Linked DNA regions of Homo sapiens: regions 2, 3 and 4 are each linked to region 1. Evidence: promoter capture Hi-C in human tissues and cell types (Jung and others, 2019). All regions are on one chromosome and are shown on one strand. The core of a region is centred on a gene start or on the middle of the fragment in contact, and the rest is flanking DNA. Distances in the headings are between cores, read along the strand shown.

Region 1 (6,987 bases), core at 3,168-5,667:
ACCAAGCTCCATATTTAGTTAGGTGTCCCTCCTCTAATTCCTCCAGCACTCTGTGCTGCCAGTTAATAGCATTTACCATAATATTCATTTGTTTTAGTCTTTCTCCTTAATTGTATACTGCTTTGAAGCAGGAATTGGGTCCTATTTCTCTCTGTATCTCCAATGCTTACAGTGCATTAAATATAGCAGTTGCACAATAAATAGCCATAAAATGAATAAATGTAGTAAATAAGTATACAATGGTTTTCTTTTCAGCACAAAATCTATGAAACACTTAGAGAATTTAAAAATGTCACAACTTCATTATAAAATTTATTGTAAACATATATACCATAATCACAGAGCTCTACCTAAGTTTTCCTTAATAATCAGAAAACAGATATTCTGTAATAAAAAAGAAATTAAATCAAGGAAAGGAAAACCATAAGGTACCCATATGATTTACATTATTCTGTCACTACAAAACAACTCCCCAACACATTTCTTTTCCTTCTTATATGAGGTGCAAATCTAGAAAAACAAAGCATCTCACAGAGCTAAGATGAACAGCACTGAGTATAAAACGAAATGAACACATACTGCATAATACAAGAAGCTGGACAGAAATTCAACCTTCCAATGAGCATTAGTTCTCTTACATTGTTTGCTGGTCATTAACAGTAAAGCATACTGCTGTTAGATGATCTCATAATATTCAGTTCCTGCCTCTTTCTTCCTAAACCTCAATGAACTATCTTTCCCTCTTGACAATTACCACACAAGTGTTCTCAGTCCTTCCCAAGACTTTAGTTTTCTTCTTCTCCTTCCACCCTATCCAGCACATTCTCCATGTCCCAGGATTTATTCTCCACCTTGTCTTTCAATGGTAATCATGTTCAAATTCCCAGCCACTGGTCTCATTTTCCAAAACATCACCAACGTGTTCTCTGCTTACACTATATAGGTCTACTCAAGTTGTCCACACAGTTCCCTTCTCACCTCACTCCTCCAATACTTTAAAAATATGTCAACATCTAATTTCCCCATTAACTACTTTCACATTTATTGAGCACCTTAAGTATCACATTAACTAACAAGATAGTAAAGATAATTTCAAACAACCATCCACCCTTCATTTATTCATTCAGCAAATATGTACTATGTGCCTACTATATGAAAGATACTATGCTAGGCACTTTTGTTCACAAGTCCTTGGTCTCACAGAGTTTATAGCCTTGTAGGATGAGTGAGTTATTAAACAATCAGTGGATAGCTGTAAAATAATAAACTAAGATTAATACAATGAAAAAATGACTTAGAGTGCCAGGAGAGCCATGTGGGATCTGACCTAATTTCAAATAAGAGAATGTTTCTCAAAGGAAGTGATGTTAAGATCAGGTCTGAAAGAAGAGTAGGAACTAACTAAATGAGGAGAAGAAAAAGATAATTCTCAGCAAAGAGGACAGCATGTACAAAGTTCCTGGGCAGAAGGGGGTATGGCGCATCCTCAGGAGAGTATAGGCAGAGTGGTGGAGACATAGGGAAGCCATGTAAAGAAGGTCAAGACCACCCAGGACAATAGTGCAATAGGCTGCATCAAGATGCTGGTCATTACTCTGACAGCAGTGGGAGCCCAGAAAGGGATGAAAAGCAATGTCATGACAAGATCTTCATCTTACAAGATCATTCTGGCTGCAGAATGGAAAAGGAATAAGGGGCAAAATTGGAAGCTGGAAAATCAGTCAAAAGGCTGTTGTAGCAGTCCAGGTGAGAGATGATGGTGTCTGAAATTAAGGTAGAAACAGTGGGAATGGCATGCAGAAGAGGAATATGTAAAATATTTAGGTAATAAACATGATTTAGTGGTGGACTAGGTATGTGAGATATGGGGGGGAGAGTCATGGATGACTCTTAGGTTTCTGAATTTTGCAGCGGGAAAAACTGAACAGAGTTGAAGTTTATTTTGTTGGAGGAAATAACGGGCTCATGAAGTTAGTCCTGAAGTATCTTTGGGACACTCATGAGAAGAGTTATTGTACAGTGCTATTCAAAATATGACCCACAACGATTTGTTACTGCTTCATGACAAGTACAAAACAGGAGAATAAGTATATAGAAGCTTTTATTGAAATTTACAGAGTAATTTCACATCTGTTTAATAAAAATTTTTCCTTATTTTTCTAGAAAATCATTTTTACTGTATTTTAGAAAAGTGCTGATCTGTGACCTATTATAAATTTTAAAGTCTTCACCACAGAGAGCTTGAGAAGCATTTGGCTAAAAGGCAACCACATCAAGGCGCAAAAACAAAAGATTTACAAATATAAATCTGACACTGAAGAGACTATAGATGGGAAACTCTGGGCACTGGATGAACTTGCCAAGGAGACAGGATTTATTGAGAGGAAAAAAAAGGTTTTGGACTAAGAATTGACGAACTTCAACATTTAATGGTCAAGGGAAGAGGACGAGCCTGCAAAGAAAAATGATGAAACATCAACAAAGATGAAGAAAACCAGGCAAGTTTGACAACACATAAGAAGTTAAGTGTTTCGAGAAGGAGGGAATGGTCAACAATACCAAAAGTTGCTGTGGTCACGTAAGGTTTATCAACACGGAGATGCTCGGAGACCACACCAGGAACAGTTTCCATGGAATGATGGGGTGGAAGTCAAAGAGGAATAGGCTAGGGAGAGTATGTAAGTGGTGAGGCGGCAGAGACCACTCCATTTAAGAAGCTTGGCAATGGATAGAGAGACGGTTGCAGGAAGAAAATGTGGAGCTTTTGTTCTGATTTAAGATGGAAGAGAAATGAGCATGTTTACATGTCAATGGGAAGGATCTAGTTCAAAAACAAGTTGAACCTTCAGGACAGAACAAGTTGTCCTCTGATACCTAAGGCAGAGTGAAAATACCATGTGAACTCTAAATTGTCTTTAAGGTCTGATTAGACATAAAAGTTTTTGCCACTAGTCTGGTCCATTTTTCAAAGCTATTACACATCAAATATAAATTTTCAATTTTTAATTCAATTTATAAGACTTTTCAGTATAAATACGTTCTCCCAAATCAAAGGAGCTGTCATCTAGGAATGGCTTTTAAGTCAAACACATCTGGACTCAAATATCGGCTCTGCCACTTAGCACCTGTGTAGCCTGAATGGAATCACGTTAACTTTCCTCCCTCTATAAAACTGTCATTACTATACCCATCGGTCACGGCTTCTGTAGAAATTAGATGAGCTATATATACTGCTAACACTAGTGTGCAGTTACTAGCAGTTATTAAATATCATAACCTGCGTAGTACTGGAAGAAAATGCTATCATCACTCCTAAAGGCAGAGTGATCCACATTTTTACTGAATTGGTTATTTAGTTTTTTAGGATAAGTATCCCATGTTCGCTAGTTATGAACAATTTTGCAATTAAATGTGTCGTTAATGTTAAATGAGACAAAGCGTTTCAAGTGCAACTTAAAAATTCAAAATAATTTACAAAAGAGAAACCTTGGACACGGATAAACCATTTCAGCCTAACTTCTCCAGTGCAGGCGCGGCTACGTTTGCATGCTTCTTACATACAGAAGTCTTACACGCTTCTGTGCCGCTCTCAGACCCATGCCACGCCCAACTTTCAAAAGTCTCTGCACCCCAAGTCAGTATCACTGAGTCTCCCGCCCCTCAGGTTGCGCCCCCTCGGCCTCTAGTCTCCCACCCGGAATTCTTTACCCTTTTCTAATAAGTTGGTCACCGTCAGAGTCCCGGAGGTTGCCGCGAAGTCTGATCCAGCAGAAGGAGCCCGTGCCTCCGCACAAGAGGAAGCAGCAGAGGGCAAGGACGAACCATTTTCCGCGCTTTGGTTCAACCGCTTTCTATTCTTCTTGGAAGACATGGTCACAAGGTACCCTAGCCGAAGCAGTAGAAAAGCCGACTCAATGTGCGCGCTTCAACTGAGAGAAAAACTTCCGGGGCAGAAGTCAGCGAGGGTCCGCCCCTGCGCCGTAATCCCCTGAGTGGAGCGCAGCAGTGCACAGCGTGGTGGGAGGGACTGAGCGTTTTCAAAACCAGCAGTCTTTGAAACAGCTGTAACGGCATCTGTGAAAGAAGATAGGTTCCAGGAACGGAACTGCCACTTAGATTGTAAATTCCTGAAAAACAGGACGTTTTTGCATCTCCTCCCGGCTTCCCCATCCCTAAACCAACGTCTGTTGAATTAAACTACCAAACAAAATAAGTGAGTGGCGGTGGGGGAGGAGGTTTTCCCCGCTTAACTGGAGCGGGGCAAATTGCTGAGAAGGGCTGGTGGACCACTTCGCGGTCTCCTTGGCATAGCTCTGCAGAGTGGTAACCCCAGCTCAACTCTGAGGGTATTGATGGCACTCTTCTAAAATGTACGGCCGCGATCTCCGCTCTGGAGCGCGGAGGGGTCATTTGGGCAACGGACGAATTAAGCGGCGTGGAGATGCGGCAGCCACTGAGCTGGGGCCGCTGGCGCGCGATGCTTGCCCGAACCTACGGCCCCGGGCCTTCGGCGGGTTACCGCTGGGCCTCGGGCGCACAGGGTTACGTGCGGAATCCGCCAGTTGGAGCGTGCGATCTGCAGGGCGAGCTGGACAGATTCGGGGGCATCTCGGTGCGCCTGGCGCGGCTCGATGCGCTGGACCGCCTGGACGCTGCCGCCTTCCAGAAGGGCTTGCAGGGCAAGTGCGCCTGGGACGAAGGGCTCCCGGGGCTCCAGAGCTTTTCTAATGAAATAACCGCGGCCCCCACTCCCTAGTCGCTCTGTGCACCACTGTCGAGCCCAGAGGGAAAGGGAGAAGGCACGCGTGACCTGGACCTGTTTTCTGGAGCATTCGTGCTTAGACCTTTTGCTGGGAGGTCTCTAAGGCGGTTGGGTGAAATGGTGAAGATCCCGGACTTTGGGATCTGCAACCCTGGTTGCTGGTCCACTTTCTACTGTGCGACATTCGGAAATTGCCGTAAACCACCATTTCCTCTTCCACAGACCCCGGTGATAAGAACTCCTGGAATTACTGAGAGTTAATTTGGATAATGCACATAAAGTGCACAGCACAGTGCCTGCCACGTATTTAAAGCTCAGTAGATGTTTGTTAATATTATATTATTACATTATTAGTATCCTTTACCGAGCCTTGGTTCTGTCGGACACTTTTCCCAAGGAAAAAAACTCTTACATTCTAATACGGGTGGTGGACTGAGTGGACCAAAGAGGCTTTTCTTTTTTATTTTTAATTTTTGTGGGTCCATAGTAGGTGTGTATGTTTATGGGGTATATGAGCTATTTTGATAGAGGTATAAATGTGTAATAATTACATCAGGGTAAATGAGATACTCATCACCACAAGCATTCAACCATAATCCAGTTACTCTTAGTTATTTTTAAATGTACAGTTTGTTTTTTTTTTTTTTTTTTTTTTTGAGAGAGGGTATCATTCTGTCTCCCAGGCTAGAGTGCAGTGGTAGGATCAGGGTTCACTGCAGCCTCCAACCCCTGAGCTCAAGCAATCCTCCCACCTCAGCCTCCTGGGTAGCTAGGACTACAGGCGCGCATCTGGCTTTTTTCTATTTTTTCTAGAAACGGTGTCTCACTGTGTTGCCCAGGCTGGTCTCAGTCTCCCGGGCTCAACTGATTCTCCCGCCTTGGCCCCTCAAAGTGCTGGGATTACAGGCAGGAGCCACTGCACCCAGCCTGAATCTTTATTGAATATAGTCACCCTGTTGGGCTATCAAATACTAAACCAGAGAGGTTCAGAGTGTCACATTTGTATACAAATTGGGTCAACAGCTGTCTCAGCGAGAACTGGAGTTTTTTAGAATAACGCTTCTTTTATGATTAACCAGGGACGGTGGTGGGTGGTTTCAGTCTTCAATAAGAAAACTTTTTACTGGCTTTCAACCTTGAGCCCAATGATAAGAAAGCTTGGATGGAGGAGCCTTCACTTTGGAAGAAGTCGATTTAGTGGTGCAGCAGTTTTTCAAACGGCCTCTGAGGGTTTTATAATCTAATTGAAGGCATAGCATGCAAATTCAACTATGGAAAAATCTCTCACACTGGAAACTCAAAATAATCTTTATCCTATTGAGCAATATGGCAAGAAGCATATCTGTAAATATAATTGAGCTAGTTATTTCAATGTTTACTCATCCTCATTCCCAGACTTCTTACCTCTTCACATTATTTTCTCTCCTACTTGCTAGTAATTGCTGACAAGCCCGCTTATACTGCAACAGTGTCACTAATAGGAGAATCAATCGTTTTATCTTCCAGTGTGTGGGTAGACACAGGTGTTGTACCCACTGATACTTATCAATGACCAAACAGGTGATCAAAGCACTACCCCAGTCAGCATGACAAAGCAGAAAGCTGTGCGATTTGGAGGTGCACATTCTGGGTTTAAGTACCAGGTTCTGCCATGTGCTTAGCCAGGCATTAGGCAAATTGCCACCAAAAATATTTGCTTCTTAGCTTGCTTTTTGTGAATAACGCCAGCTCTAATTACTGGATAGATGCGTTGATCAAAGATGAAACTAATTTGTAAACTTAAGTACCAAATACTTGTTATATTTTTTCAATAAAACAAATTTTGTTGCACTTAATGGTAGATGTTTTAGGATCTTTATAAATAGTAATTAATCCTCCTAACAACCCTTTGAGGTAGATAGCATTATTATTCCTATTTTAAAGATGACAGTAGTGAGGCACAGAGAGAAAAATTTACTTGCCCTGGCTCTACACCTTTCTTACTGCACTATGCTACCTTGAAGAACTCCTGCTGGTTCTGTTGTTATAATTGAACAAAACTAACTGAATGGTAGTGCCTATAAAGAGAGACTATTTACACATGAAGTCCGCTATTCTTAGTCTTTATGGACTAAGAAGTCCATATTCTTGGTGGAATAAGAAGTCAACTATTCATATTCTTTTAGAACATGAACTATTGATGTTTTGTTACCAACAACTGAAGTTAGAGGGATAAACAGGCAATA
Region 2 (6,987 bases), core at 1,744-4,243, 1.4 Mb before region 1:
GAGTGTGTACTTTGATGTTGCCTTTTCCCTTTCAAGTGGCTGGGAGCTAGTGAGAGCCAGAAAAACTTTCTTAAACCCATAACTAGAAGCCATTTGTTCAATGTGGCAGAGATGCCTATCCATCTTGGATCAACTGCCTGTATCTGGACTATTACATGAGAGAGAAATAAATGTTTATTTTTTTAAAAACAAAGTAATTGTATTTGACATCTATTTAAAATAAATATTTGTACAAGGAGGATGCTAGAGTACCTATAGAAGATTTATGCAATTTGGCTTAGCAGGAAAGCAGCAGATGTTGAGAATACAGAAATTACTGATTAGAAATCCAGTGATACTTATTATACTATGACCATTAACTGAATGTGGTGAAACTGTTACCTGTGATCATTTAAAAAGCAAATCAAATGTCCGGAGAGCCCATAACTTTAGTGGAACTCATCAGAAAAAAATCAGAATATTTGTGTGTGCTGGCTAACAGTTTGCATCTTTTAAACAAATCACTGGAGAGAAATAGAGAAATTCTGATGAGGGGTTCTCAAGCAGATGTGGAAAGTAATGTGTTCTGATAAGGTAAACTCTTTGCCTGCATCCTGTAATCTAAATAAACTGTGATGTGAGTCAAGTAATTTTGAGCCTTAAACAATGTTGGAGAGCCAAGGTTGCTAACCCCTAAACATAATGGGATAAGATTGAGACCTGAACTTTATTAGAGGGCCTTCTGTCTGACTCAAGAGATCTTGACCAGACAATGGAACTCAGCCCAGATCACAGATTAGATTAAATGAGTTGTTTTTCAATCCCTATTGCTTCAGATAGCCTCAAGGTAGTTGCTATTAAATTGAGGAAAAGACATGAGCCAGCTTAACAGGCCAGTAACTAAAAAGGATTTGGGTGGGTTTAAAAGTTATGAGGAGGCAAGATCCTTGGCTGTATTTAATGTCACATGAAACTGACTACAAACATATAGACTGAAAGCCTACTAGATTTTAGGTACTTGTATTAAAAAAGACATTGCCACTCTAAAGTACAAATGTTTATGATTAACCTACTCCTAAGTAAACCCCTGAATCTCCAACCTGCAAAATAAGATTGTGCAACCCCCAAGCATGTATACTCTCCAATGTGCATGCATGTGTATGCATGCAATGTGTATGCATGTGTATGTGTATGCATGGCCACGTCAAATGTGGCCAAAGACAACAATAGACAAGAAAAAGTCCCTCAGATCTCATGGAGGACAACAGATAAGGAAGTTCTTCCCAGAAAGTAGATACAGATGCTAACCAAAATAAGTACTCTATTGCCTTGACAGGGAATCTTCATAATTTCTGCTTCTTAGGACCCCTTTATTATTATGAATGTCATTTTTCTACTTGTCCTTTTTCAAAATGGAAAGTTGATAGCTATCTTATTTCTGGTCCACTACTAAATACGGAAGGCAAAGATTCATGGTAATTGTCTATTATTTTATACATTGCTTGATCCATTGTCCATACCTGGTGGAAAATTCTGCATATCACTCAAATAACATGGCTGGATAATAATTGACTAGGAATTATTTGAGTCTTCCTTGGGAAATGGTGAGTGAGTGGGAAGAATGATAACTATGAATATTCCCATAATCAGAGGTTTAGTGAAAGATCACTACTAGTCACCCAGAATCCTTTTTTCTCCTATTATGATACACTTTTAATCAGGCACAAATCTACACAACCTAATACTAAAATTTTGACCTATATATGTCCAAATAACAAACGTCTGGCCTGTGGAATTTCAGCAGAAATGTTCTGTGCCATCCAGTTTTTGTCTTTATTACTATTATCATTGACTCCCCAAAATATCACTTAAAATATTTGTTAATCAAATAAGGCTATGTTTATGAAACTTACTTCATCAAGAGACAATGTAATCTGGACAGTAGTTTCTTGGAAAGGAGAATTCAGTGAATAATATTTTTAGACCTTTAGGGCTTGGGATGAGTGATTTTAAGGTGAGTCTTGCAAGGCAGAGCATAGTTGAAATCAGACAATATTGATGACATGATAATTTTGGATTGAGTGCACCGAAGGTAAAAATATTAAAGCAAGCCTTGGCTAAAAGGTTTTTTCTTCATAAGTAAGAAATTTTAGGCTGGGCGCAGTGGCTCATGCCTGTAATTCCAGCACTTTGGGAGGCCGAGTTGGGCGGATCATGAGGTCAGGAGATCAAGACCATCCTGGCTAACACAGTGAAACCCCATCTCTACTAAAAATACAAAAAATTAGCCAGGCTTGGTGGCAGGCACCTATAGTCCCAGCTACTTGAGAGGCTGAGGCAGGAGAATGGCATGAACCCAGGAGGTGGAGCTTGCAGTAAGCCGAGATCGTGCCATGGCACTCCAGCCTGGGCAACAGAATGAGACTCCATTCAGCATAGCTGAACAAAAGGCACCAGAAACTTCTGCAGACTTAAACGTCCCTGTCTGACAGCTCTGAAGAGAGCAGTGGTTCTCCCAGCATGGAATTTGATCTCTGAGAATGGACAGACTGCCTCCTCAAGTGGATCCCTTACCCTCATGTAGCCTAACTGGGAGACACCTCCCAGTAGGGGCCGAATGACACTTCATACAGCTGAGTGCCCCTCTGAGACAAAGCTTCCAGAGGAAGGATCAGGCAGCAATATTTGCTGTTCTGCAATTTTTGCTGTTCTGCAGCCTCCACTGGTGATACCCAAGTAAACAGGGTCAGGAATGGACCTCCAACAAACTCCAACAGACCTGCAGCTGAGGGACCTGACTGTTAGAAGGAAAACTAACAAACAGAAAGGAATAGTATCAACATCAACAAAAAGGACATCCACACCAAAACCCCATCTGTAGGTCACCATCATCAAAGACCAAACGTATATAAAACCACAAAGATGGGGATACACCAGAGCAGAAAACTGAAAATTCTAAAAAACAGAGTGCCCTTTCTCTTCCAAAGGATCAATGCTCCTCGCCAGCAGCAGAACAAAACAGGACGGAGAATGACTTTCAGGAGTTGACAGAAGTAGGCTTCAGAAGGTCGGTAATAACAAACTTATCCGAGTTAAAGGAGGGTGTTTGAACCCACAGCAAGGAAGCTAAAAAGCTTGAAAAAAGATTAGACGAATGGCTAACTAGAATAAACGGTGTAGAGAAGACCTTAAATGACCTGATGGAGCTGAAAACCATGGCATAAGAACTACATGAGGCATGCACAAGCTTCAGTAGCCAATTTGATCAAGTGGAAGAAAGGGTATCAGTGATTGGAGATCAAATTAATAAATGAAGCGAGAAGAGAAGTTTAGAGGAAAAAGAGTAAAAAAAAACTGAACAAAGCCTCCAAGAAATATGGGACTATGTGAAAAGGCCAAATCTACATTTGATTGCTGTACCAGAAAGTGATGGGGAGAATGGAACCAAGTTGGAAAACCCTCTTCAGGATATTACCCAGGAGAACTTCCTCAACCTAGCAAAACAGGCCAACATTCAAATTCAGGAAATACAGAGAACACCACAAAGATACTCCTTGAGAAGAGCATTCCCAAGACACATACTTGTCAGATTCACCAAGGTTGGAATGAAGGAAAAAATGCTAAAGGCAGCCAGAGAGAAAGGTCAGGTTACCCACAAAGGGAAGCCCATCAGACTAACAGCAGATCTCTTGGCAGAAACTCTACAAGCAGGGAAGATTGGGGGCCAATATTCAACATGGTTAAAGAAAAGAATTTTCAACCCAGAATTTCATATCCAGCCAAACTAAGCTTCATAAGTGAAGGAGAAATAAAATCCTTTACAGACAAGCAAATGCTGACAGATTTTGTCACCACCAGGCCTGCCTTACAAGAGCTCCTAAAGGAAGCACTAAACATGGAAATGAATAACTGGTACCAGCCACTGCAAAAACATGCCAAATTGTAAAGACCTTCGATGCTAGGAAGAAACTGTATCAACTAATGGGCAAAATAACCAGCTAACATCATAATGACAGGATCAAATTCACACATAACAATATTAACCTTAAATGTAAATGGTCTAAATGCTCCAATTAAAAGACACAGACTGGCAAATTGGATAGAGTCAAGACCCATCAGTGTGCTGCATTCAGGAGACCCATCTCACGTGCAGAGACACACATAGGCTCAAAATAAAGGGATGGAGGAAGATCTACCAAGCAAATGGAAAGCAAAGAAAAGCAGGGGTTGCAATCCTAGTCTCTAATAAAACAGACTTTAAACCAAAAATGATCAAAAGAAACAAAGAGGGCTATTACATAATGGTAAAGAGATCAATTCAACAAGAACAGCTAACTATCCTAAATATATATGCACCCAATACAGGAGCACCAGATTCATAAAACAAGTCCGCAGAGACCTACAAAGAGACTTAGACTTCCACACAATAATAATGGGAGAATTTAACACCCCACTGTCAATATAAGACAGATCAATGAGACAGAAGGTTAACAAGGATATCCAGGACTTGAACTCAGCTCTGCACCAAGCAGACCTAATAGACATCTACAGAACTCTCAAACCCCAAATCAACAGAATATACATTCTTCTCAGCACCACATCACACTTGTTCCAAAATTGACCACATAGTTGGGAGTAAAGCACTCCTCAGCACATGTAAAAGAAGAAAAATCACAACAAACTGTCTCTCAGACCACAGTGCAATCAAATTAGGATTAAGAAACTCACTCAAAACCAGACAACTACATGGAAACTGAACAACCTGCTCCTGAATGACTACTGGGTAAATAACTAAATGAAGGCAGAAATAAAGATGTTCTTTGAAACTGATGAGAACAATGATACCACGTACCAGAATCTCTGGGACACATTTAAAACAGCGTGTAGAGGGAAATTTATAGCACTAAATGCCCACAAGAGAAAGCAGGAAAGATCTAAAATCGACACCCTAACATCACAATTAAAAGAACTAGAGAAGCAAGCAAGAGCAAACAAATTCAAAAGCTAGCAGAACGCAAGAAATAACTAAGATCAGAGCAGAACCGAAGGAGATAGAGACACAAAAAACCCTTCAAAAAATCAACGAATCCAGGAGCTGTTTTTTTTTTGAAGAGATCAACAAAATTGATAGACCACTAGCAAGACTAAAAAAGAAGAAAAGAGAGAAGAATCAAATAGATGCAATAAAAAATGATAAAGCAGATATCACCACTGATCCCACAGAAATACAAACTACCATCAGACAATACTATAAACACCTCTATGCAAATAAGCTAGAAAATCTAGAAGAAATAGATAAATTCCTGGACACATACACCCTCCCAAGACTAAACCAGGAAGAAGTTGAATCACTGAATAGACCAATAACAGGCTCTGAAATTGAGGCAATAATTAATGGCCTACCAACAAAAAAAGTCCAGGACCAGATGGATTCACAGCCGAATTCTACCAGAGTTACAAAGAGGAGCTGGTACCATTCCTTCTGAAACTATTCCAATCAATAGAAAAAGAGGGAATCCTCCCTAACTCATTTTATGAGGCCAGCATCATCCTGATACAAAGTCTGGCAGAGACACAACAGAAAAAGAGAATTTTAGACCAATATCCCTGATGAACATTGAAGCGAAAATCCTCAATAAAATACTGGCAAACCAAATCCAGCAGCACATCAAAAAGCTTATCCACCATGATCAAGTTGGCTTCATCTCTGGGATGCAAGGCTGGTTCAACATATGCAAATCAATAAACGTAATACATCACATAAACAGAAACAAAGACAAAAACCACATGATTATCTCAATAGATGCAGAAAAGGCCTTTGACAAAATTCAACAGCCCTTCGTGCTAAAAACTCTCAATAAATTAGGTATTGATGGGATGTATCTCAAAATAATAAGAGCTATTTATGACTAATCCACAGCCAGTATCATACTGAATGGGCAAAAACTGGAAGCATTCTCTTTGAAAACTGGCACAAGACAGGGATGCCCTCTCTCACCACTCTATTCAACATAGTGTTGGAAGTTCTGGTCAGGGCAATCAGGCAAGAGAAAGAAATAAAGGGCATTCAATTAGGAAAAGAGGAAGTCAAATTGTCCCTGTTTGCAGATGACATGATTGTTTATTTAGAAAACCCCATCGTCTCAGCCCCAAATCTCCTTAAACTGATAAGCAACTTCAGCAAAGTCTCAGAATACAAAATCAATGTGCAAAAATCACAAGCATTCCTATACACCAATAACAGACAAACAGCCCAATCATGAGTGAACTCCCGTTCACAATTGCTGCAAAGAGAATAAAATTCCTAGGAATCCAACTTGCAAGGGATGTGAAGGGCCTCTTCAAGGAAAACTACAAACCACTGTTCAAGGAAATAAAAGAGGACACAAACAAATGGAAGAACATTCCATCCTCATGAATAGGAAGAATCAATATTGTGAAAATGGCTATACTACCCAAGGTAATTTATAGATTCAATGCTATCCCCATCAGGCTACCAATGACTTTCTTCATAAAATTGGAAAAAAACTACTTTAAAGTTCATACGGAACCAAAAAAGAGCCCACATTGCCAAGATAATCCTAAGCAAAAAGAACCAAGCTGAAGGCATCACGCTACCTGACTTCAAACTATACTACAAGGCTACAGTAACTAAAACAGCATGGTACTGGTACCAAAACAGAGATATAGACCAATGGAAAAGAACAGAGTCCTCAGAAATAACACCACACATCTGCAACTATCTGATCTTTGACAAACCTGACAAAAACATGAAATGGGGAAAGGAGTCCCTATTTAATAAGTGCTGCTGGGAAAACTGGCTAGCCATATGTAGAAAGCTGAAACTGGATCCCTTCCTTACACCTTATACAAAAATTAATTCACAATGGATTAAAGACTTAAATTTTAGACCTAAAACCATAAAAACTCTAGAAGAAAACCTAGGTAATACCATTCAGGACATAGGCATGGGCAAGGACTTCATGACTAAAACACCAAAAGCAATGG
Region 3 (6,987 bases), core at 3,072-5,571, 1.2 Mb before region 1:
GTGTTCTATTCTCCTCAATGCAGTACCTTAAGAATCCACTCCTGAGCACATGTCATCTAGTCCTACAGGTCCTATGGCCCACAGTTTCTCTTCTTCCTTGTCAGGTCCAGTGATTCTCCAATTGGGTCGTGCTAAGACTTGTCCGATTATCAATCTAGTGGTCAGGATGAAAGGTTGGGGTAGATACTGAAGAGAGCAATTATTATGGCACCTGCCTTATTTGCCTCTGCATAATCTCCCCATCAAGGGAATGGGCCACTTGTGCATCACAAAAACACACAGGTATCTATATGTGAACATAAATCTAAAAATGTCATCAGGGCAGGTTTTTTGTTTGTTTGTTTTGAGACGGAGTCTGGCTCTGTCGCCCAGGCTGGAGTGCAGTGGCGCAATCTTGGTGCTCACTGCAAGCTCCGCCTCCCGGGTTCACGCCGTTCTCCTGCCTCAGCCTCCCGAGTAGTAGCTGGTACTACAGGCGCCCACCACCACGCCCGGCTAATTTTTTGTATTTTTAGTAGAGACGGGGTTTCACCATGTTAGCCAATATGGTCTCCATCTCCTGACCTCGTGATCCGCCGCCTCGGCCTCCCAAAGCGCTGGGATTACAGGCGTGAGTCACCACGCTCCGCAGGGGCAGGTTTTTATCACCGTCATGTCTCACTCAAATATAAGTGCTATGAAAATCTCCTAAATCCCTTTGCCACTACCACCTCTCTGGATTTCAGTGGGGTTGACATATGCTTGTCCTGGCTCTCTAAATGTGGCTGTCCACTTGGGCTAATTTAGATGCATGCAGCTCGGCCAAGCAATGTCACAGGCAAATATTGATTGCTTCTCCCACTACACATTTTTAAATCTTTTGCTGAATCAAAACCTCTATGCCTTATCCTGCTCAGGTTTGAAACTTTGGACTTTCGAGAGCCTAGTCTGGGGAGAAAAGGTGCTTTAACTGTTTCATTTTCTTTACCTTTCCTTTATTACAATTCGAACTCTATTCAAAGAAATGTGTTTGTTTCTAATTTGCAGAGACATGCAGAAATAAAAAAAAACACACAAAGATAAATATTTCAAGATACTATCTTATTCCGTGTGTGTGTGTGTGTGCACCTGTGTGCCTGTCTGCATTTTTATTTATCTAGTTAATACCCTGAATTTATTGCAAAATTCTGAAAGGAGAAAAGATGTTAAGTAAACAGGATATTACTATAACAGAAAAACCTCTCAGTTAACTGTACTTAATTAATTATCCTTTTAGCACGGTTTAAGCTGTCTGTGCTAAGTCTACAAGAAACATGAGAATATTCTGGTTACAATCACCTCTTACTCTCTGATTTGCACTATTTCTTTCACATACATTTTCAGTCTTTCTCCTTATGAGTCTCTGAATCACTTCCTAATAACTGCATATTTTTAAGATGGTATTTGCAAATGAAAATAGCATAAATTATTCTTTGTTACTTATCTAAAAAATCGTACAGTTGATCTTTGAACAATACACGGGTTAGGGCACCAAATCCCCAGGGAGTAAAAAATCTGCATGTAACATTGGAGCCCCACAAAAACTTAACTGCTAATAGACTATCGTTGACCAGAAGCTTCACTGATAACATAAGCAGTCAATTAACACATAGTTTGTAGGTTATATGTATTATATATGGTATTCTTACAATAAGATAAGCTAGAGAAAAGAAAATGTTAAGAAAATCATAAGCAAGAGAAAATATATGTACTATTCATTAAGTGGAAGTTGATCAAAAAATTCTTCACCTTCATCATTTCACATTGAGTAGGCTGAGGAGGAGGAGTTGGAATCGCTGTCTCTGGTATGGTGGGGCGGAAGAAAATTCACATATAAGTGGACCTGTGCCGTTCAAATGTATGTTGTTCAAGGGTCAATTGTAATGTGAAAAGTTTTCAGAAAAGGATGATTGCATATATGCATTTACATAGACAGCTGCATATAAACATACACATTACAATGTTCAAATTAGTTCATCAGATTGGTTGATACTCCTTTAGAACAGTGGTCTTCAAAGTGGACATGCACTAAATGATCCACAGATGTGCCAGAATGATAAGAAAGTAGTAAAATGTTCTAACATGTAATATAAGATGGATACTGTTGCCCCACTCTGTCAGTATGCCAGAAGTAACATATCACACATGAGGGGAAAGAGGGCTAGCTAGTCCTCACTCTCAGAAGTAGATAATGGTCCTTTTTTTCCATTCCTTGCTTTCAGAATATGGTCATTTATGAGTACTGTTAAGTGGATTTTCAGATTTAATTATTTAAAATAACAGAGTCCCATAATACTTTGTATCAGATGGAAATAACAATAAAACATTCTCTTTTTTAACCATATGTAGGTTCCTTGATTATCTAAAGCCTTTTTTTCCTCTTTACCTCAAATACATAGCTTTGGGTTAATCGCACTCTTCTGTTTATGATACAATTGTCATTGATCCATAGAACAAATGTCCCCTCTTTTGTATTATTTATTTACACCTTTTTATCTCCATGCCATACCATCCATTGTAAGCTACTTTCCTAATGCTTTTGATGTAGTATTTTTTCTTGTACAAATTCTCATAAAATATGTATTACTATTTTGTATTTATATATGTATTTTAATTTATATAAATATGAATTTTTTTACTTAACTCATCACTATGTTTTTAAGACTCACCCATGATTGTTTCTATTTATATATCCAGTATGAGCCTTTCAAGTGCTGCTACAATATTCTAAAGCATGCACCCACACTATTTCACTAACCATTCTATCAGAGAAGTATGCTCAAATTCCAAAAATTCTGGAAATTTTTGTGCATATCACCATTTGTACATATAACCTTTATTTCCATAGAATATTAATCTGGGAGCAAGACTGGTGAGTAGTGGAATATGCATTTCCTCTGTTTAAATATTGCCAAGTTATTCTCCAGAATGGTTGTCTGAAAGGTAGGAATCTATACTCCCACCTACAGTGCATGGAGGATACCTATAACTCTATATAGCTATGAGTATCTCACCTTTCAAGATTCTGCTAAACTGATGGTAAAATTCTATAGAGTTTTACATCTACAATTGTTGCTTTTATTTGCATTTTATTTACCAATGAGCTTGAGCCTCTCTCATTTACTTTTTAACCTTTTGCAATCTTCATCTGTGAACTGTCTCTTAAACTCTTTGCACATTATTCTACTGAAATTTAGATTTTTTTCTCCATAGAAGTATCATATATTCTTTATTAAGTAAATTTATGAACACTTTATATTTCTCAGTTGCTTATTAGTAGAACAGATAAATGCTACTGTTTTTTTTTCTTAGTCAATCCTGTGCCCAGAAACCTTGCTGAATGCTCTTATTCTATTTTTTTCTAATGATTCCTTTGGTTTTTCTTTATAGGTAATCATACTGTATGAACATAATATAGTCCTCTTTTCCTTGAGGACTTACACCTCTTATTTCTTCTTTTTAAATTCTTTGAGTGTTGAATGAAACCTAGTCTTATGCTAAATAGTGGCAATGATAGAGGATAACTTTGTTTTATGTGTACCCTTGATGTTAAAGGAAATATTTTAAGCTTCTCCACTAAGGATGCTATTTACTGGTACTTTGATATAAAATATCTTTCAAATTAGGGAATATTTTATTTCTACATTTCTAATTATTTATTATAAATATGTTAAAATTTATCAAATTACTATTTGCATCTTTTAAAATCCTCATATTTTCTTTCTCAGTTTATTAATGAGAGCTTTAATATTGAAAGAGTTTCTCATGTTTATCATCTTCTCATTTCTGGGATTAAAAATACCATTTGATTTTGGTATATTTTTTAATATGTTAGATTTATTTATTTAATATTTTGTTTTGGATATTTGCCTCTAGGTTTCTAAGGCAAATATCCCAATAATATCCTTACTGTTTTTTGTTCTTGCTTAGTTGTGAAATCAAGATTCTACTAACCCTGTAGAATAAGGTGGACAGCTTTCGCAGTTTTCTCATTTCTAGAAACACATATAATATAAAAAATAACTATTTCTTAAATGTTGATTAATGTCAAATATAAAACAATCTGGGTTTGAGCAGTTGTGGGAGGCTCTAACACTTTGATTATCAGTTCAATTGCACTGTTCTGTTTGAGTGTTTTATTTCTTCTTCTACCTTTTTGACATTTAATACTTTTTCCCATAATTTACCCTGTATATAAGTATGCAACTTTACTAGCAAGTTCTTGATTATAATGCTCTTTATTATTTTCTTCTCTCTTATTTTTTTGAGTTAATTTTTACTTCCTGAAGAATGTTACTTTCTAAAGCTCAAATTTTTAAGTACCATTTATGTCATACATGCATTTTCTTTAAGTTTTAAATATTTTATAATTTTCCTCATTATTTCCTTTTTGAAATCTAAAACACATATTATTGTTTTTATAAATACAAAATTTTGTTAGCTACATTCTAATTTTATAATATTATGGCCAAAGAACCTAGTCAGTATGTTATTTGCTTTTTTGGAATTTATTGAAGATTCCTTTGAGCAATAGTAGAAGTCAATTTTTATGAATTATCAATTTATAATAAAAATGCATATTTTATCTTTGTTAGGTTTACAGCTGTATAAATATCTAATAGTTTAAACTTGCACATTATGTTTTTTACATATGCTATGTTTGCCTTTTTTCTTTTTTTCTTATGTTTGATTTCTTGGTTTCTGAAAGGTAATGTTAAAAATCTCTAACTACAATGGTTAATATATCTATTTCTCCATGCATTTCTGTTAGTTGTGACGTTATATACTTTGAGGTTTTATTATGGAATACATCCTCATGATGGTTATGTCTTCCTTTATTGTTTCCTTACCAGTATATAAACATCATCTTTGTCTTTTTCAATCATTTCTGGTCTTGAATTCTATATTCTGAGATATTAGCAGCTAAAGATGAACTGTGCACTTTCCTGTAAAAAAAGGCCTGTGATCTAAATATGCTGACAACTCCTGTGAAATCTTTTAAGTAAATGTGCCCTGTTAACAGTGACTAAGACAGTAATTGCTTTTTAAAAACAAATGTGTGCTATGAGGAGAGAATCTTTCAAATGTATACTTAGAAATGTTGTTTGTTGTTTTAGATTTGGGCTGTCTGTAATAATGTAGAAGGAAACCTTATTCCCAAGAATCACCCTCGTGACTTCTTTCCAGCCCCCACTCACCCTTTTCCATGGGAGAAGAAAGTATTTTCCCACTTGTTGAATGTGGGAGAAAAGAAAGGGCATGCATAGACAGCTTCTCTCTATTTGGGGGATCTATCCTTGCAACAAGCTCAGCAAATACACCTGAGTTTCCAGGGGCTAATTGAACTCAGGAGGATGTAGAAGAGCTAGCTGATTTGACTGCTTAGTCACATTTTTATTTGAGGTTTATTAGAAATAAAGCATTTGATATATCTTTCACCAGAAAGTGCTTCTATTGGAGAGAAACTATGTATTTAAGAAAGCAATACCTAGGTTTTATGAGTGAAATGTCTTAATTATGGAGATGCTCTCTACATCTTAAGGTGGAATTATAGAAAAGAAGTAAGCACTAATATTCCTGACAAAAAGAAAAATATACGTTTTGAACATTTAATTCCCATTAATAGTGACTTTCATTCTCATTGGGAGAGAGTCTTTCTTTTCTAAGATCAGATATGGTGCTAATACATAACTCCTCCCCCTGCTGCTTAGTTCTGAGGTTCAAAAGACTGCCAGGTGGCTTTTATCAACCCATGGAAAGCAAAGGATTTTTGCCTCAATTAAATGGTACTTTTCCAAATCTGTTTGTGAGCGGATTTAGGCATTGAAGCCCCAAAGTCACTTTAATAGGTGTGACTAGATTTCCATTTACCAATTAAAAATTTACCTTTTCAGCTGTCTGAACACTGACTCATAGGGTTTTGATTTTCTGTTAGAATAGAGTGACATAAAAAGTCAAATAAATGTTTCATGGTTAGCCAGTTCCAACTTATTACATTGCTGTGTTAAGAAGTCATGCAAACAGAATGTCCATCCGTCCCCTTGAGACATAAATTACTTTGTGATTACTCCAAGTGGCCACTAAAGGTCACTCTTACTCCATTTTCCCAGCCAGTTTTGAAGCCTGGCTCAGGTATAAAATTTGTGAAGCCCCTGTCTTTGTACTAGCAACAGACAGACTTGAGATAGAATGTTTAGGGGTCAAGAAGCACAGTTTCCATACCTATTCAGTTTCAGGAGGATGCCAAACCTGCCTGTCTAAGTGGTTTGAGTCAGAAAGTTTGTGTTACATCTCCATGTTAATGCATTTCTAGAAAAGTTATCAAAATTTATAAAAAGTTCATTTTAAAGTAAATACAGGGTGAATATAAACTTCAGTCATTATATTCTGGCCCAGAGTAAAAAGTCCTTTTTTTAAAGAAGAAATAAGTCATCTTTAGGAAACACATTTAAGACTGAAACTCTTACTGAGCTGATAAATTATAACTGATCCTATATGAGGAAGGGGGAAGGAAGGTTGAAAATAACACTTGCCAAGAATTGAACAGCTTAAATCATCTGTAAAAGTAGTGACATTACATGTAGGAGCCATTTCCTCCTTATACATAACTGTTTGGAATGTTTAGAAAATGCTCATATTTAAAAGTCTTGGATTTCTTAGGTAAGAGAGACGTGTGTGTGTACAATTTACACGAGTGTCTAAGTAAACAGTATAGATACTTAATATCACTAATAATAGGAGGAACATAAACTAAAACAAACAACTATCTTTTAACTTATGAGGACAAAAAATTAAACAGGAAAATAAAGTAGTAAGGTTTTAGAAAAGCAAGGTCATTTGCTTTTCACATTTTGGTGAGATTTTAAATAGGAACTGGCATTTGGCAATAACTAGTAAAAAGAATGTGTATTCTTTTGGACCTAACAGTTTTACCTCTAGAATTTACCTTAGGGAAACACTTACTCATTT
Region 4 (6,987 bases), core at 3,070-5,569, 1.0 Mb after region 1:
AAGTCAAAAAGGTGAGTGGGCCTACTTTCATCTAGTGCCATATTAGAATAAACATGTGATACAAACTATGCCATAATCCTAGGAAAATTATTAAAATAATAAGACTAGACGCTAGTAGGCTGGGCAACATAATGAGACTGTGTCTGTACAAAAAAGAAACAAAATTAGCTGGGCATGATGGCATGTGCCTGTAATCCCAGCACTTTGGGGCCTGTAATCCCAGCGCTTTGGGAGGCTGAAGCAGGAGGATCACTTGAGGCCAGGCGTTCAAGACCAGCTGGGCAACATAGCGAGACCCTGTCTCTACTAAAAATTTAAAAATTAGCCAGGCATGGTGGCACGTGCCTGTAGTTCCAGCTACTCAGGAGGCTGAGGCAGGAAGATCACTTGAGCCCAGGAGATTTGAAGCTGCAGTGAGCAATGATAGCACCACTGCATTCCAGCCTGGGCAACAGAGCAAGCAAGACCTTGTCTCAAAAAATAAAATAAAAAAATAGATGCTATTGATAAAAGAGTTTTTTGTGGGGGGTAAAGTTGCAAGTTAAATGTGTAGCTTCTGATCCTTTCTACTTTTTACCCATGGTGGGACCTTGAATAAGTCATAAATTTTTAAATTTCAGTTCCCTCATGTACAAGGAGGATAATATCTCTTATCTATCTCAGGGTTTTGGTGGAATTTAAATGAGTTAAGATATGCAAAAGCACTCTGTAAACTGTTAATTACAATACAATTAATAATGCTGTTACTTGTATACATTTTTGTAAGGCATTTTTACATTGTTATGTGAATCCTTGCAGCAAGTCTATGTTATTATTCATTTTATCTATAAAATACATCAGATAGATGATGGGGTTTCTATTCTACAAGGAAACTGAGGATTGCCAAGCTTCAATGACATGTCTAAGGTCACATAACTAAGGAGTTGGTCATGCAGGTGCCAGAAATAAAAATTATGATTTTTTTACTCTGATTATTGCAGAAAAACTGTTATGTGTATCTATTTGCTAACTTGTATGGGGCTTTTAAATAATTCACAAAAATTGTAGTTATGTTTCACAATAATAAATATCTCAGTTATCCAGAATCCAATACTTTATACATGTTATATAACAGACTTTCTTGTACTTTAAGAGAAACTGATAAATCACAAAGAAATAAACTGTTATCAGCTCTGGTTTTATGAAGTTGGTCAATTTACAAAGAGCCAAGTGTTCTGTCTTTTCTGCAGTGTGACATGGTGCTTAAGAGGACAGGCACTAGAGCCAACCTGTAAGGATTCATGTCCTGACATCACCATGTGCTCCTGTGTGACCATGAGCAAGTCACCTAACCATCCAAGCCTCCATCTGCTCACTAGTAAAGTGAAGACAATAGTTGTACCTACTTATTCATTTGTTTAAGGATTGCATGAGATAATGCATGTGATTAGCACACAGTAGTACATGGTGATTTCTCAATAAGTATTTCTCAATAAGTATTAGCTATTAATAATAACATTTCTACATTATGAAAATTCATACCCAGAGTGATGACTCTTAAGCTAGTTAATCCTCACTCGTCAAAGACAGATTTCATGCCCCTTGTACTGAATCAAGTCCTTAGTAAGAGGAGTTGATTTAGGCAGGAAGGAATTTAGTAAGTGATATTGAGGAAGCTCACAGAATCCTAAGAGGAGGTAGAGGAACAAGCTTATCTAAGCTGTGCTTCCAAAAACCTCACCCAGAACCAGGCACAGTGCTGACCTGTTAAGGGAGTTTCTGTGGCCCAAACAGAACAATTCTGCCTCTGCTGCTCCCATATCAGCATAGAAAGGATGCTCTGCATCCTGCCTGTTTTCATATGGCCCCTTCCACTGATCAGTGGAACCTAAGCCAATGTTTGCACCCTAGCAGCAAGTGAGGATGGGGAAATCTCTCTCTCTCTCTCTGTGTCTCTTTCTCCTCTTTCTCTCTCCCCTCCTCTCTGTCTCTCTCTCTTCTGACACACATAATTCTACTACCACAATGTAGAAAACTTCTACACATAGTATTTGCAAGATTTTGGTCAACCATTAATGGCAGATCTCTTCTCTACTTCATAAGATAGTCAAATGTGAAGATTCTCAGTAAAGATTGAAATAAAACAACTTTTCAAGGAAAGTATGTTACAAGATAATTAAATTGGCTAGATTGCCCTCTCAGAGCATTCTTGCTAGTTGAGGTTTTGTTATTAATATATTGAGGGAAAAGGATAGTTTTGAGCAAGATTGATAGTAAACTGTTTTTTAGAAAATTGTCTAGACATATATTCACACATCCTGCAATATGTATCTCTTTTCTTTGGCACCTGAGAGAATTGATTTCAATTGTCACTGGTTTTTTATCATTGCTTTGGAAGTGTTATATGAGCAGAGACACCTCATCTACACTTGTGCTTCAGTCAACTAAACTGCCTTGCAGAGTTTATGTCTTCCTGCATGTCAATTTTAAATAAATTGGCATGTAGGTTACAAAGTATGAGGTGTCGTTAGTAATAAATTGGTATCAGTCAACCATCAGGCAACAACAAAAAAGTTAGAACTGTAAGGAGATTTAGGACTTTTGCAAACTTCTGGTTTTGTTTGTTTTATGCTATAAAAGGAGTATTAATTAGAGTCTTTGATTTGGAATCTTCACTCAATAACTGTATGTAAGAATTCTATTCTAGAATAATAAATGTATGTAAGAATTCTGTTCTAGAATAATAAATGTGTGTAAGAATTCTATTCTAGAATACTTGCAAAGCCCCAATTTCTCCTTTCTTTCTTCCTTTCAAAGGCTTCCTTCATGGCCGGGCACGGTGGCTCACACCTGTAATCCCAGCACTTTGGGGGGCCGAGGCAGGTGGATCACGAGGTCAGGAGATCGAGACCATCCTGGCTAACATGGTGAAACCCTGTCTCTACTAAAAAACATACAAAAAAATTAGACGGGCGTGGTGGCAGGCACCTGTAGTTGCAGCTACTAGGGAGGCTGAGGCAGGAGAATGTCATGAACCCGGAAGGCGGAGCTTGTAGTGAGCCAAGATCACGCCACTGCACTGCAGCCTGGGCGACAGAGCGAGACTCCGACTCGAAAAAAAAAAAAAAAACAAAAAAAAACCCAAAAAACAAAGGCTTCCTTCGTTTTCAGTCAACACTCACCCATCTTCATTCTCACAGGAGGAAAAATATCACCCCACCCACTCCTGCTGCTTCCTTTTCCCACCATCTCATTTCTAGTCTCCAAGCAAAACCACGTCTTGGGTTATAATGATGCACAAACCCTGCCCACTCTGGCACAGAGGTAGTCCACAGCCATATGCAAGCCATTGGGATTTCAAAGTAACTTTATATGTTATGGACTCCCCCACCCCCTGATAACATAATAAACTCATATTTATTCAAATCAACCCATAATTCCACCAAGGAAACCATTCTTATCTAATTGTAAGCCAATATTGGCCGCATATGAGACTCAGGAAGTCTTTTTTTTTTTTTTTTTTTTTTTGAGACGGAGTCTCGCTCTGTCGCCCAGGCTGGAGTGCAGTGGCGCGATCTCGGCTCACTGCAAGCTCCGCCTCCCGGGTTCACGCCATTCTCCTGCCTCAGCCTCCCAAGTAGCTGGGACTACAGGCGCCCGCCACTACGCCCGGCTAATTTTTTGTATTTTTAGTAGAGACGGGGTTTCACCGTTTTAGCCGGGATGGTCTCGATCTCCTGACCTCGTGATCCGCCCGCCTCGGCCTCCCAAAGTGCTGGGATTACAGGCGTGAGCCACCGCGCCCGGCCAGGAAGTCTTTTTTCTACCCTCTGCCCAAGACCTACTCCCAGCTCTGGTTCTGAGTCTATTGTCTTCTAACTGGGCTCAGGATTCCCAGAGATCTGGTCTTTCCTAGAAATCAAGGCATGAGTTCAACACAGGCCTTACAGAACTCAAGGACAGTTAATCCAGAAAATGAATATATAAAACACCAGAATAGGAGATACATGACCGTGAATTTAATGTTTATGTTGGAAAGGACTTTCTCATATAAAAGCGAAGAAATCTCCAAGCAAAAATGCAAATAATCTGGCCACATATAATTTAAAACCTCTGTATGACATCAGAAAGATTATAAACAAAAAAGTGAAGGGCATACTAGGAAAAATGTTTTTTCGATTGTATCTCACAAAAGATTGATCTTCTTAATATCCCAAGAACTCAAACAAATTTGTAAGGAAAACATCCAGGGCCCTGTAGAAAAATCAGCAAAAGATTTGAATAGGCATGTCACAGAAGAGAAAATTCAAATGGCTAACATGCATATTTAAAATTTTCAGACCTTTTAGTGATAAACGTATACTAATGTACAAATACCATTTTCCTTCTCTTAAACTAACAAAGAATAAAAATTTACAATTCTCAATGCTGATAGTAAAAGAGCAACCATCTGCCTGCATCTTTACTAACAGGGAATGGATTTTGAAGATTATTCATCCTAAAATCTGTTTTTTTTTCTTTTTTTTGAAATGGAGTCTCACTCTGTCTCCCAGGCTTGAGTGCAGTGGCGAGATCTTGGCTCACTGCAACCTCCACCTCCCAGGTTCAAGCAATTTTCCTGCCTCAGCCTCCCGAGTAGCTGGGATTACAGGCACCCATCATCCATGCCTGGCTAATTTTTTGTTTTTTTAGTAGAGACGGGGTTTTACCATGTTGGCCAGGCTGGTCTTGAACTCCTGACCTCAAGTGATCCGCCCACCTCAGCCTCTCAGAGTGCTAGGATTATAGGTGTGAGCCACTGCGTCCAGCCTAAAATCATTTTTAAGGGGTCTGTAAGGTAAATTTTAAAACTGGAAGGATAGTGAACACTATTACTATTTATAGAAATACCTATATTATTCTTTGAAAAGAGAATGGAATACACTGGAAGATGAAATTTGATTTTCTGAAAATGGGTACAAGAAAATTAAATTTTAGGCAAAAACACTAATTTTGTTTAATTAGAATAATGGACTATTTGCCCCCCACCAAAAGTCTTGAGTTCTAATTCTGACTCTACCTCTATCCTGCTCTGTGATGTGCAGCTGAACATTAATCCACTCCCCACCATAGAAATAACCAAAGTTCTACCTACTTCACCGTGAGCTATGTCTATTTTGAGAAAGTTTTTGACAAAAGATACTAGAGCTTGGTAGACCACTGAATCTGGAAAACTGGGCTCTCAGAAAGAGAAGGAGAACATTTCCTGAGTTCTTCGTTTCTGCTCTCCTATTAATATTTCCTCCATAGTAGGATTAGATTTAAATGTAGAAAAGCCATCCTAAAAAGAAACATGCAGCAGTATAAACAGGATAAAAGCATCCATTGTGTATCCACTTTCTGTGCAAAAAGTGTGCAGGGGAAGCCCAGAATTAAAGAAATGCAATGAGAGAGTGGTAAATACACCACTGAGACGTTGGAACGGGTGTGCTGGCCGGCACAGTCCTGTGTCCTGCACTGTGTGGCCTCTTGTCCTGGTCTTCCCCAGGCACCAAGAGATAACAGAGCATTTTGCACTCAGCAAGTTTGAAAATCCAGAAAACCTGTGCAATATAAGTTTTAGGTTTATATTTCACAAGTCATTGAGTTTTTAAAAGAAGTTGAATTGCCTAGTTTTTATTTACAAGAATATGTTCCTTTAAATTGTATGAATTGTGGCTCTAACAGTATCATTAAAAACAAATCCAGAGTTCCTACCATGATTTTACACAACAGTATTCCCATGAAGACAGTTCTTGTGAAGGCTGATTTGATGAAAAACAGTGTAACATGAATTAATTTTTAAGTTTAAAATTTGATTGTTTTCCCTAGCCTGCCCTGATCAGTGGTTCAGTTTATAATCTATTAGTTATTTGGCAAGAAAAAACATTTCAGTTGTTCTCAATGCTGATTGTCCAATTGAAAGATTGAGATTTTCTTGTGTCAAGCATTCTCTCTTTGAATCAGAAAACTCAAAATAAGGGTATTATTTTTGTTATGACTTCAATTTGCTGGTCCACTGAAGTTAGGAAACAGCATACAAATGTTATCCAGTTGGGCATAACTGGTGTAGTGACATAAGGAGATTTTTCAGGAGGTAAAACACTTTTCAGGTATAAAGGTCACTGCCCTATTTCGAAGTCATTGAAAAGACCAAAACTCATCTCCTAAAGGGATTAGCTTTTTTGCCTTCACTTGCTATTATTGTACTGGCTTTACTTTCTTTTTTGAAATGCTCCTTGTGTACTTGCATTAGGATTTTACATCATTGGAGGAAAATCTGTTTGTGTGGATTAAATGGAATCGACAGAATCCATGAAGTCGTGTATAATTATCTCAAAAAAAAGAGTAGAATTAGAAGCATAGGAAATAGACCTGTTAAGCTGAATTTTAAAGTGTAACAGGCAAAATGCAAACACCCACAATTTTGGTTACTACTTAATGTAGAGTAAGTGTTTGCACTGTAGTACAGGTTACATCAAGTCAAAGATTGACCATCACATATATGCCATATGGGAAGGATTGAGTCCATCAAGTCTTTGAAGCTGTGCAATCTTTATAAATATGTAATTAATGACATAAAGCACATCTTCAAATTTAAAAATTAGTCCAAGGAGGAGGAGTAGGAAAGGGAGATATGCTATAACATTAATATTTCTGTCCTCAAGAGTTTAAAACCTAAGAACGACTAGTGCCTTAGTCCGTTTGTGTTGTTACAATAGAATGCCTGAGATGGAGAGACTTATAAGAACAAAACTTTCTTGTCTCATAGTTCTGGAGGCTGGGAAGTCCAAGATCAAGGCACCAGCAGGTTTGGTAGTCTGGTGAGGGCTGCATCCTCTAGAGGGGAGGAACACTACGTCCTCACATGGCAGAAGAGTAGAAGAGCAAGCTAGCTGAATGCTGCATGAAGTCTTTTTTATAGGCGTCTTAATACCATTAACAAGGGAGCAGCCCTCATGGCCTAATCACCTCTTGAAGGCCCCACCT

Evidence for each region. The method cuts DNA at HindIII sites, captures the fragments that hold promoters and counts their contacts. A contact is called where the count stands out against the background at its distance.
Region 2: a contact is called between a fragment that was not itself captured here and the fragment with the promoter of NUDT6 in region 1, in 1 of the 25 tissues and cell types used here (mesenchymal stem cells).
Region 3: a fragment that was not itself captured here is called in contact with the fragment with the promoter of NUDT6 in region 1 in 1 of the 25 tissues and cell types used here (mesenchymal stem cells).
Region 4: a contact is called between a fragment that was not itself captured here and the fragment with the promoter of NUDT6 in region 1, in 1 of the 25 tissues and cell types used here (lymphoblastoid cells).

The regions. Positions count from the first base shown.
Region 1 is chr4:122,920,027-122,927,013 of GRCh38, reverse strand. NUDT6 (nudix hydrolase 6) reads left to right here and starts at 4,417. Exons shown (of 5, transcript NM_007083.5): 1 at 4,417-4,679. The coding sequence starts at 4,442. AFG2A (AAA ATPase AFG2A) reads right to left here and starts at 3,936. Exons shown (of 16, transcript NM_145207.3): 1 at 3,709-3,936. The coding sequence starts at 3,871. RefSeq lists enhancers at 3,575-3,944, 3,737-4,273. The HindIII fragment of the contact is 4,244 bases long and covers 2,409-6,652 here.
Region 2 is chr4:124,270,407-124,277,393 of GRCh38, reverse strand. The region is part of intron 3 of LOC105377406 (a long non-coding RNA gene); the gene reads right to left. Among named protein-coding and RNA genes, the nearest start is that of LINC02516, 280 kb to the left of the region's middle. The HindIII fragment of the contact is 3,439 bases long and covers 1,274-4,712 here.
Region 3 is chr4:124,111,164-124,118,150 of GRCh38, reverse strand. The region is part of intron 2 of LOC105377407 (a long non-coding RNA gene); the gene reads left to right. Among named protein-coding and RNA genes, the nearest start is that of LINC02516, 440 kb to the left of the region's middle. The HindIII fragment of the contact is 3,459 bases long and covers 2,592-6,050 here.
Region 4 is chr4:121,918,042-121,925,028 of GRCh38, reverse strand. It overlaps TRPC3 (transient receptor potential cation channel subfamily C member 3), which reads left to right. Exons shown (of 12, transcript NM_001130698.2): 3 at 1-11. Among named protein-coding and RNA genes, the nearest start is that of TRPC3, 31 kb to the left of the region's middle. The HindIII fragment of the contact is 6,061 bases long and covers 1,289-6,987 here.